Linked DNA regions of Homo sapiens: region 2 is linked to region 1. The links are contacts of gene promoters, found by promoter capture Hi-C in human tissues and cell types (Jung and others, 2019). All regions are on one chromosome and are shown on one strand. The core of a region is centred on a gene start or on the middle of the fragment in contact, and the rest is flanking DNA. Distances in the headings are between cores, read along the strand shown. Region 1 holds the start of AKAP6 (A-kinase anchoring protein 6). Region 2 overlaps NPAS3 (neuronal PAS domain protein 3).

What was found. The method cuts DNA at HindIII sites, captures the fragments that hold promoters and counts their contacts. A contact is called where the count stands out against the background at its distance.
Region 2: a fragment that was not itself captured here is called in contact with the fragment with the promoter of AKAP6 in region 1 in 1 of the 25 tissues and cell types used here (mesenchymal stem cells).

What each region holds. Positions count from the first base shown.
Region 1 is chr14:32,325,505-32,331,697 of GRCh38, reverse strand. AKAP6 (A-kinase anchoring protein 6) reads right to left here and starts at 2,400. Exons shown (of 14, transcript NM_004274.5): 1 at 2,290-2,400. RefSeq lists an enhancer at 141-435. The HindIII fragment of the contact is 5,497 bases long and covers 1,418-6,193 here.
Region 2 is chr14:33,750,862-33,757,030 of GRCh38, reverse strand. The region is part of intron 7 of NPAS3 (neuronal PAS domain protein 3); the gene reads right to left. Among named protein-coding and RNA genes, the nearest start is that of SNORA89, 45 kb to the right of the region's middle. The HindIII fragment of the contact is 4,510 bases long and covers 378-4,887 here.

The DNA of each region.
Region 1 (6,193 bases), core at 1,151-3,650:
CACACCATCTACCCCTTGGGGATATATTAAAACTAAGACAACTGAAATAGCCTTAGCCAGTAATTAAGACATGCAGCTAATCAGAGAGCAGCGCAGGCTGTGGCCCTCTACAAAGAAACGAAGAAACAAAACATTAGGATGATAGCTCTCATTACCAGGGCTTTGTTCTCCTGGAGCAAAAAGAGCACAAAAGCATAAAGTTGGAGAACTGTAATTGCATTTTGAACATTTGCGGGGGGAAAAATTACAGGGTTGTCTGAACCGGGAGGATGTTCCACTAGATAACTGCGTCAGTCCACACCCACCAGCGCCCTTCCCCACCCTCAAAGCATGACTCCACTTTTTCTAACACTGCCCTTAAGGAATCTAGCTTTTGTGACTTCCAGTAATTGAACAAATCAACCATGATGAAGCAGCTGAAGAGCACTTTAAACAAAAGAGACAAGAATTAAGCAAACAGAAAACTCATTACAATGCTGCCTTTTGCTTTTTTTTACTCCTAGAAATTCATGTTACCAAACAAGTCTTTCTTCATTGCTCTTCTTCAGAAATAATACTTTAAGAAAATTCTAAAAGGCACTAAGTGATTTTATCCAGATTTATAATCTAGCTACAAGACATACTTTCCCTTCCCCCATCACCATCTAGCACTCTTCCCTGTCACCTTAGAGCTTTCGACTTAGATGTGTTCACACCCAGCAGTCCCAGCAGAGCTTTCTGCTCACATTATATGACATAAAAAAGCAGGCAATGAACAATTCATGCTTCTAAGTGCTTGCGATAAAGCCAGGCTGAGCTGACCTCTCCCATCCTATACAGCTGCATGTCAGAAACATAAGCTTAAAGGACTGAGAGTAGCAAGCATGTGCGTGATGTGGTATAAACAAACAAATTAAAACCTGAGGCCTTTCCTCTGGCTGGTGCCTAATGGGACTAGCATACTTAACTCTGTGCAAAAAAAAAAAAAAAAAAAAAAAAAAAAAATCACTCCAAGCTAGCTAAAGGTATTGCTTTTCCTGCTTTCCATGATATATCTCTTTAGCCCCAATAAACAGACTAAAAGAAGAGGAATTCAATGGTTGCCATTCTTTCGTGTAAGACTTTTTGAGTAAAAACTATCAATTTGGCAGCATTAAGCCACAAGACCACTCCCTGATTCTAAGTGGACATATTGATCAATTGAACTGACATGTGCCTCCTCCTTTCTCTCCCCTAGTAGCAATCAGCTGTACCAGGGAAATCCATTTCATTTCCCAAAACAAAAGGCAACATTCTGCTCCTTATCTGACACTGTCAGACTAATTTTTTAGAAAATAATAATAATAATAAAGATGCCTAAAAACAGAGCTAGGAGTTGAAATGAAAATGATACGTGTTTAGAGTTTTGGAATTGAGTTGAGGTTATGACTGAGTCCAGAGGTCTGTAATCCCTACAACCACTGAGGACCCTGATATTTATTCATCATACCCAGATTTTTGTTAAAGTTAAGCAAGGGATGGCAACACCACTGCCACTTCAGAGGCTCTCCCAGGGTTACCCTTCACTGCAACTGCCGCAGAGAGGAGACTTGTTCCTTTCTCAGTTACAAGTCAGCCTGCAAACAACTCCAGCTATTTCAGAGACTAGCTAGAGATGGAAAAATATGTGGCAGTCTTTCAACTAACTCTGAAGGACATGGGTTGAAGAACTACCATATAGATCAAAAGGCTCAAATAATTTCATTTGGTTTAGGTTTTTATGCTTTTAATAAATTCTGTCTTGAATATGCAAGAGATCCCCTTTCACATCAGGGTTATGTCAAATGCTTATTCAGCATTTGTTCCTTGCCATGAAGAAACTGAAACCCAACCGAGGTAAATAATGAATTTCATACTGCAAATCACTGAATATTTCATAATTCACAAGAGCAAAGAGGGGGCCAATTAGCTCTGCCTCCCAAAAAGAAATCTATATTTTTACAATGCTTAAATACTGTTAACTACTCATTTTAAAGCTTATCTGGGGTTTTGCAATTGAAAAATCATCTTATGTTTATGAAAAATTCTGTAAGAACACTTAAAAATAACAGACAGAGCTGGAGCAAGAATAATTCTACATATTTTAATTCCTATATGACTCTTACAGGCCTTTGTCTTAACCCGGCAGCCTGAAAAACGATTTAGGTAAAACAGCCCTTCTTTCCCCAGTCCATTTTAAGCAGAGACAACATCCCCCAATCTCCGCCTTAGCAGACACCGACTAACCAACAAAACAGCCGTGCAATTAAGGCCCAGACATTTAACACTCACCATCTCCTGATCCCACCGTCTTCTTTTGATGTTTACAGCACATCTGTAGGATGCAATACTAGGAGATGCCTTGTTTGACCTGCTGCATGATGCTGTGACATCAGTTCAGATGATGCAGCTCATTATGGGAAAGACTGCTGTTGCTATGGCAACTGGGATGTGCTAGGAATCCTTGCTGCATTTCCAGTGGAGCCTGAGACAATACGGAAGCCCTGTAAGAAACAGACGATATGCAAAATTTAGACCAAAGGAAGAGGATTCCTCATTGGACTAAAATCCATAGGTTTAAAAGGGATTTCCCTGAAAGCATTTTGGAAAAAACAAAAATTATCTCCCCCTTTGTTGTTATACATTTAGAAAAAAAAGGTGGGAGGAGAAAATAGAATTAGTACTAAGCAAATAAAAACTGAAATGTACAATGTTTCCTTATTAGACAATTTGATCACTTTTTCCTCCCTGGTCAGCACTGGGATAGCTTTTTAAAAGTTATTAAAAAGAATTTTTGCTCATCTGTCAAAGACCAAAAGAACAAAACAGCGAGCACAAAAATAATTAAAAATGGAATATAAACAGCTGACCAAATGACTCTAACTCTCAAGTAAACAAGTTTTAATTCTCAAAACATGGGCAAACCCTTGGCCAATGAAGTCTGTCCTGGTTATTTTCCCTGATGAACACCAACCCACAGAACCTTCCCATGCAGAATAAACCCAGCTTTCACCTGGTCATCAGATAGGCAGCAAAGGGAAGTTTGGAATCTAGAGGGGCACAACACACCACCCTCAACTTCTACTGACCCTTCCTTTGGCCTGCAGGGAACCCCTCCTTCTCATGGCCAAAACGCATGTGAGTCTTTTCTGGGATCAAACCTAGTGGTTGGAACAAGTAGCAGACCTGCTAGAAACTTCCTAAATCGTTGGCATTCCAAACATTGGGGTCTGTTTTCTTCTTTTCTGAACAATAAAACTGCCTACCACACAGATTATTTGTGCCCCTCCCCAACCCCAAAAGCTGGAACTGTGTGAAAAGCCACATTTAAACAAGACACGGTAAGGCATTTCTCCAGTTGGTAAAAGAAAAGCAAATCTAAAGCAATCACTTCTTTCCAGTCCTGAGCAGAAATCAACGTCATGTGGTGAGAACTGGGGAGAAGGAGATATGGACAGAGCAGCCTATGTTTTGCATATTTAATATTTGCAGGCCATTGATAGAGAAAAGCAGAATCAAGTTGACCTGTATCCACTCCGTCTTCACAACTCTGAAAAAGAACAACATTCCAAAAGCTTAAAACATGAGACAATTATGTTGTCTCCTCCTGCTTGAGATTTTAAAATGGCACTGTTAACCACCAGCATAGGCGGTGTGGGATGAGTGGCAGAAGGAATTCAGGCAGTGTCTCTGTAAACAGGAGCTAATAAAATGCCTGAGAAGTGCCAATATCCCAGCAGCGTGCACCATCAGCCTCGCACAGAGCAACCCTGCCCTAGATGGGAAGACAGACTTGTTCTTGCTTCATCTAGAGAGGAATTAAGAGACCAAAAGCAGGAGGTGAATCTGCCTGCTTAGGTCCTTTGTGGCATCAGCAGAGCCTGACTCCCTCCCTTTATCTTAGACCTCAGACCACATGCCACACACAAGGGGAGAAGTAGCAGGCAGCTACCCCAGTACAAAGAGTACAGATCTGAGAGTCAGGAAACCCAACTGTAAATGTCAGGTCCTCCTAGAGCATCTGTGTGATATCAGGCCAATTGATTAACTTCTTGGGGCCTCAAGTTTTTCATCTGCAGAGATGATTGATTTAGCTAATAACCATAGTTTTCAGGTTTTTCATTAGTAATATAACCTTTCTTTTAATGATACAGATCAAAGCTGGACTGCCTTGGTTGAGGCAAGATAAGAAGCCCAGAGCCCAGACTGATGAGCCATTCTCAACCACTGCCTCCAACCTCATTTGCTGTAAGCTGACTCTTTAAGATACCTCTGAAGAACCCTTCAGTCTCTGGAGAAGATAAAGAGACATGGACCTATTACAGAACAAGATTAGTCTTTCCAGAGCTGAAATCCACATGCTATAAAGAGGAGAGGACAGGGTGGGAGCAGGTGTTCCAGATTTGAATATGGCTTCTCAAGATGGTAAGAATCTTGTTAATCTTTTTTGCCAGAAGCAAGTCAATCATTTGATGGGAAGAAATGGATGGCTCATCAAACCTGAGGCCAGGTCAAACTTTTAGCAACCTGGACTAGCTAAATTGCTTGCCCACAAAATGGCACTCACCAATGAAACGGAAGTAGAAGTGGAAACCATCAACTCCAAAGGTGGCTAAGACCAAGTGTCTCTTCTTCATGTTTTCCTGTCCTGCTAGCTGGATGCAAAGAATCCAGTGGAACTCTGAAGCCCAGAAAGATAATGGCCACACATTGTGGATGGAGCCTGGGTCCCTGAATGACTGCATGGAGCTCAACCATCCTCTCCCAACTACCTATTGACCTACACTGGGCTGCAATGAGTGAGAAACAAACACCACCAAGATTTTGGGGTAGTTTATTCTGAACAAATTATCCATTTATAGATAAAATTATAATTTAATAAAATATAAATTTTCTAACAAGATTATATTATATATCATTATTTATGATAAAGTGACAGTGTTAAAAACATGTTCCTTTATTGCAGACTTTCTTTTTTTATTTTATATTACTTTAAGTCCTGGGATACATGTGCAGAACATGCAGGTTTGTTACATAGGTATACATGTGCCATGGTGGTTTGCTGCACCTATCAACCCATCATCTAGGCTGTAAGCCCTGCATGAATTCGCTATTTGTCCTAATGCTCTCCCTCACCTTGCCCACAACCCCCCGAAGGGCCCTGGTGTATGGTGTTCCCCTCCCTGTGTCCATGTGGTCTCATTGTTCAAATCCCATTTATGAGTGATAACATGCAGTGTTTGATTTCCTGTTCCTGTGTTAGTCTGATGAGAATGATGGCTTCCAGCTTCATTCTTTTTTATGGCTGCATAGTATTCCATGGTGTACATGTGCAACATTTTCTTTATCCAGACTATCATCGATGGGCATTTGGGTTGGTTCCAAGTCTTTGCTATTGTAAATAGTGCTGCAATAAACATACATGTGCATGTGTCTTTATAGTAGAATGATTTATAATCCTTTGGGTATATACCCAGTAATGGGATTGCTAGGTCAAATACTATTTCTGGTTCTAGATCCTTGAGGAATCGCCACACTGTCTTCCACAATGGTTGAACTAATCTACACTCCCCAAAACAATGTAAAAGCGTTCCTATTTCTCCACAGGCTCTCCAGCATGTGTTGTTTCCTGACTTTTTAATAATTGCCATTCTAACTGGCGTGAGGTGGTATCTCATTGTGGTTTTGATTTGCACTTCTCTAATGACCAGTGATGATGAGCTTTTCTTTCATATGTTTTTTGGCCACATAAATGTCTTCTTTTGAGAAGTGTCTGTTCATATCCTTTGCCCACTTTTTGATGAGGTTGTTTTATTCTTGTAAATTTGTTTAAGTCCCTTATAGATTCTGGATATTAGACCTTTGTCAGATGGGTAGACTGCAAACATTTTCTCCCATTCTGTAGGTTGCCTGTTCACTCTGATGATAGTTTCTTTTGCTGTGCAGAAGCTCTTTAGTTTGATTAGATCCCATTTATCAATTTTGGCTTTCGTTGCAATTGCTTTTGGTGCTTTAATCAGTAAGTCTTTGCCCATGCCTGTGTCCTGAATGGTATTGCCTAGGTTTTCTTCTAGGGTTTTCATGGTTTTAAGTCTTTAATTCATCTTGAATTCATTTTTGTATAAGGTATAAGAAAGGGGTCCGGTTTCTGTTTTCTGCATGTAGCTAGCCAGTTTTCCCATCAGCATTTATTAAA
Region 2 (6,169 bases), core at 1,383-3,882, 1.4 Mb before region 1:
TTTCAGACCAAGAATTCCTTCCCCATGCCCCACCATCAGTGGAAATAATATTCATTCTTCAAGGGTGATATCAAATCCCTTTTCCTCTTCTTGGATACTTTAGCCCAGTGCTGTCCTCCTCCCTTTGAATTCCTACTTTTGTCTCGGCTACCCAATCAGCACCTAGGTATGTACTACCAGGGATTGCTCTCTTGCTGTCTCTGCCTTTGTCTCTGACTCTCTGTTTTCCTTCAGATGGCACAGAATGCATCCTTTATTTCTCTGTGTACCTCGTAGGACCAGACTACAGGATGACTGACTGCTTAGATGCTACATCTATCTACTGCATGAAAGCTCACAAAGTTCTCAACTTCCTTTCTTTCTTTTTAATCCTTACAATAGCCTCTAAGGTAGGTAGAGCACATATTAGTATCTCCTTTCTGTAAATAAGGAGCTGGAGGCTAAGAGAGATGAAGTGTTTGGTTATGATTACACAGCTAAAATATAATTCTGACATTCCTCCAAGCTCAGTGCTCTCTTTCACAGACCGCCTTGCATCTCTTGCCACTCCCAATTGCTATTTTGATCCATCTGAGCAGTCTCAATCTGTCTGGTTCTCCCTTTTACTTCAAAAACCTTTCAATATAAGATTCCCTTTAGAAAACATATTAGTAAGATTCTTCTTGGGGGTTAGTTACTTCGTGAATACAACTGGGTACTGCAAGAATCCACCCAACTGGGATTCCAGAAATTGTCCAGGGCATTCACTATGTAGTAGGTGGGTTTGGCTCATCTGGGCCCTCTTACCCTTTCTCCCTCAAGAAACTTATGGTCTCTGTATTACTCATTACTGACTCTGATAAATGATTACTTTATTCCAATGCAAAGAGGGATACATAAAGCTTTCAATCACTAATAAAAGAAATCAAACTCAAAGTTGGATAATTGCTATGGTTTGGGTATTTGCCCTCACCAAACTTCATGTTGAAATTAGATCCTCAATGTTGGAGGTGGGACCTAGTGGGAGGTGTTTGGGTCATGGGGGCAGAACCCTCATGAATAGATGAATGGTCTCCCTCAGGGGTGAGTGAGTTCTCACTCTGTTAGATCCCAGGAGAGCTGGTTGTTAAAGACCTGGCACCTCCCACTGTCTTGCTTGCTTCCTCTCTTTCCATGGCATCACCGCACCTGCCAGCTTCCCTTTCCCTTCTGCCACGAGTGGAAGCAGCCTGATGTCTCACCAGAAGTTGAACAGATACAGGTGTCATGCTTCCTAGATAGCCTGCAAAACCGTGAGCCAAATAAGCCTCTTTCCCTCATAAAATACCCAGCCTCTGGTATTCTTTCATAGCAACATAGAATGGCCTAAGACAGTAATATTATTAAATAACACCAGACAGCTAATCTTAACATTAACCTAAGTGAGCAACAATGACAAGGAGTCCTGAAAGGCCCACACGCCCACCCGGTCTAGAGTGCAGCCTAATCACATCAGCCATGATTCATAGCCACTCCTATATAATCCTTTCCCCCGAGGCAATTCACAGACCCCACGGCAGGGATGGCGTCATGGTAGTAACTTTCAGCTATTTTCCTACTTTTATTTTATGAACATACCTTCTGCCTTTGCCCTCTTTGGAAATAAAATGGGTAATCTGAAGGCTTCTGTTAAAAGTGGCTTTTCTTCACAAAAATAAATGTACCAATAATAGAAATAAAATGAGGAGGTCAATTACTTGTGATAAACATAAGCTAAGCCAATATATTCTGAAATGCTAAAACCCTACATTTTACAGTTATAATCCAATAAAGATAATATTGGGTATTCACAGTCACTTAGAGTTTACAGAATATTTTCACTCATATTATCTTACATTAACCTCATAATAACTCTACGATGTTTCAGGAGAGGTACTATTATCCTCTTTCAACAGACTTAGGCAAGCTAAATGAGTTCCCCAAAGTCAAATATATATCAAGTGGCAAAACGAGGACTAAAACCTACATCTGTTGATCCTAAGGCCAGGGCTCTGCATCCTACTGAGTTACCCAAAACAACAATATGTGTCTCCATTTGGCTAACTCTCACTGTCCCTATCTAAAGATTTGTCCTGCTGTGTCCATGGTCTCGTCTATGAGACACGTCATGGCATTTACCCCAAATAACTTCAGACAGTCCAGCGAGAAATGTAGATGCTTCAGAAAGGCCCCAGATGGTTTATTCTTTCAGGTGTACCTCACAATAGTCAAACACCATGTCTACAGGCTTTTCAGCTCTACGATTCTATGATTTTTAAGAGGGAAAGGGAGAAGAGAGAGAGAATCTTGAAAGATTTTGTGGTATTTGTTCTTGGGGACTAAGGACAGTAAAGATGCTGTGCTGTTCTCTAAGATGGATTACCTGTTTGTACCTCTGTCTTTCTGGAAATTCAGTGGGATGGGGATGAGGATGCAGATTCCCGGACTGTCATAAAATATTGCCTGCACATTCCATTGAAGCCATGGTCTCCCTCTGACCATGCTACCGCCATAGAGCCAGCACTCTGAGGCTGACTCCAGCCACTATTCTTCCCCTGCTCCTAAGCATTCCACGAACATGAGGTCAGAGAGGAGAGGGAGCTGGGGAAGAAGGGAATGAGGACTTCCTTGGCCTCCCTAGTAGGTGAAATGTGTCTTGAATGTCATCCATTTCCATATTCCTCTCCTCCCTCCTCTTGGCCAAAGGCTCTTACTCTGCTGTGTCTCTTTTGATACCCCGGATTCCAATCACACTTTATTCCATCCCTCACACCCCACCTATTTCCTTAGTGCTCAGTTTTAAAGAATATCAGGGAAAAAAGCCCTCTAATATTAGACAGCAATGCTTTACTGAAGTACAGATCACTGTCTGTCTGTAATGCAGCTTCTTTCCTTCACCCAATTCTTTCTCTAGCCGCCACCCCAGTGGGGTCGCGGGGCACCTCCAAGAGGATGTTTCTCCTGCTTTTCATATCACTGGTTACCTTATTTTCTTAATAGGCTCAGGCATCAACCACTCTAGGGAAACTGATTTTCCTCTTTACAACCATCTGAACAGAGGATTGCTACATCTCAACCCCTGGGAGCTTCTTCTGTGCTGAGGGTCCCTTAAGCCCCTGGCACTGGGAACTGTGGGAGGCAAGCTTCAGGCATGGCTAACTTAGGAAAAGAGAGCTCCATATTTTGTTGCTCTTGTAGCATGGACATTTGCCCATACTTTGGTGGGAGGGAAAAATGAGAGGGAACAAATTTGGGAAATAAAAGCTTAGGAAAAAATAGATCACTTACTTTCCCCAAGAAGTGTTCTCATAGTGTTTGCCTGTTGTAGCTGCTGAAGTCAGATCAAGGAACCTGTAGATTTTTCTGGGTATATATTTTCTTGCTTTGTAGGGTATTGGCTGCATGATCTGCTAAAAGCTGTGACTAAATGAACCCTACAATTTGTATTCCCACAGCCACAAGTGTATTGGCTACTTCTTTTCCTCCCCTCTTTGGCTCTGGAAGGTTCATTACTTACAGTTACTGCAGAATCAATCTGAACTGGCCAAAATCAGTGATGGAATTTATAGCATAATAAATGCCCTGCCGCACAAATGCAGTTACACGTGAAAGGCTTGGGAATGTTCTTTTGAGCAATCCTTCTACATTGTGGAGTGTACGTTTTTTTTTTTTTTTATCAATTTAACAGAATCATCTTAAGCATATTTTGAGAAGTATAATCCTGACAGCTACAGAGCAGATTTTCCCTGAGGCAGGTATTGTTGCAGAAAAACAATATTATTGATAAAAATCTTAGCATATTGGAACATGGAAGGGAAACTAAATACATCTTTTTCATTCTTCACACCAATCCTTTAGAGCTCCATTTTCCAACCTCACATTGCTTTCCACTTTCTCTTTGAATTTTTATTTTTGTAAAAGTGTTTTAACACTTCTCGAAGCACACTAATGAACTGTTCTTTAAGAAGAATCAGCCGTACCAAAGTTGGCTTTGAGAGGCAGGCAGAATTTGAAGTGCACTCAAAAGATAATGCACAGATTGGGGCATCAATGATTTTCCTTTTTAAAAGTCAGTAAGTTAAAAGATTACATTGGTATCTGGCCCATTTTTCTTGCTAAGTGCCCATATTATGGGTGAATCCTGTTTTACAGCATTCTGATACACAGAGAGTTGAACTTGAGCGCGAAACATTGAAAAAAAATATCAGAAAGACAGATGGTAGGCCGTCCTCCCCAAAACTCAATTTCATATTATGCATGTGATTGCTAATAGGCAAGCACTAAAAAACAATTTTCCTTGACGGAGAAGGGCTGATACATTGTCAACATAAAGTTAGACTGCGGTTGCTCCAGTGATCGAAAGCTCGTCTGTGAGTTTGGTCCCATCAAAGTCAGCTTCTTACAACCGTATCAAAATTTATGAATGCATATGTCTATAAAGTGACTGAAAACAACCCATAATGCATGTTTGTTTATTGTGCATCAGCTCTGTGTTGCTTTAGTACATGCAAAAAGCCCAAACAAACACCCAAACCCAACTTGGTCCAGTTCTTTTTTTTAGCTTTTGCACATGAAAAAGAGCCAAGAGTCAATTGGGGATGATGTCCCCTTCTATCCTGAGATCTGACTTAAACAAAAATATCTACTCTTAAATGGCTCTTGCATGGCTTGGGAGTGTACTCCATGGGGTTACACTAGCTTTATGGTGACAGAAGTACGTGCATTTGAGAGCAGTTGAGAGCACTGATTATCTGGAGAAGAAAAAGATGTTTGAGAAAGAAAAAAAATAAAATAAAATGAAGCAGCTGAAAGCAACTCAGCTTATGATCTGCAATACAAAGCACCAAAGTTTCATATTATATTTTATAGAAAGGTAAAGCCTATGCAGATGCTGCAAAAATATTTAGAAAGAAAGGGAGAGGTTTTCTTTGTTTTCTTTGTGAAAATTATGTTTTTTAAAAAGTAATCATTCAATCCAGGAATATAAAGGTTTATTTTTTGGGGAGAAGGAGAGAAAGGGGTGAAATTTTGCTCCTATTGAAAATCTAGTAGTCATATACTGTATTTGATTTTTTTAAAAAACACATAACTTTGAATATTTGCATGGTTATGAAACTCATATTTTATGTCATCACTTACTGTTCACTTGAGAACTGTTGTTTTAATCGCAGATCACTTGTAACTGATGTGACATGCACAGATCTTACTGGGACAAAGGGATTGGGTACTCAGACAACACTGTTTACAAAGGTTGCTATAATTAGTAGAAATTCTGAATAGTCAACCAAAATCAGAATTAAGTGAGTTGAAGAACAAATAAAATTTTTCTAATGAGAGATAATTATCATCTTGAAAGGTCAGGGGTTTTACTAAATGGTATATTCAAGGGAAACTGTGGGCGCCTGAAATGTAGGTTTTGCTTATATTTTACCAAATACAGAGACATTTCCAATAATCTAGATACCTAATGGTGTGTAGACCAAGTGCTAAGTGATTGAGGTCTATGCAGTGCTTTGTATCTCTGATGCATTTTGCAATGCCAGCTTTCAATGCATACAGGTCTTAGTTTTTTTTCCCTTGAGTTACTGGTTCTAGGATCATATTGCTCTTCTCCAAATGTCTATTTATATGAGCAATGTGAGATTAAGGGGAAAAAGTCCCTGCACTCATGTTGGCAGAATGGTAGAAGGAAAAACGAATGGAGAAAATTCCAAAAGGAATGATTTAATGACTTGTTTAAATCTATATACTTACTCCCTTACCTAATAGGCTGAGAGCAACCTTCAAGTTCTTCTTGTTAGAAAATAATGCTCTTTCTCTTACAATGATTCCAAAAAATTTTGTTGACATGAAACACTCTTAATCTTCATCCTTGTGACCCCAAACACTGATTAGCCCATGGGGCTAGCATTACACCACATGAACGTTCCTACTCTTGTCTACATATGCCAGCTCAGCTTAGATATCTTTATTCCTGATACCCAGATTTCTTTCTGCTCACTACACTTGATGCCTTCATCTCTTTATTGATACCATTCCCTCTGTTTAGAGTTCCCTTCCTTCATATCTCTGTAGGTGAGCCTATCCCTTAAGAGCTGGTTAACATGATGCTGTCTTTGAGATCCTCTCCTTTTATACCAGACAGAATCATTTGCTTTATCCCGTTGCCCTT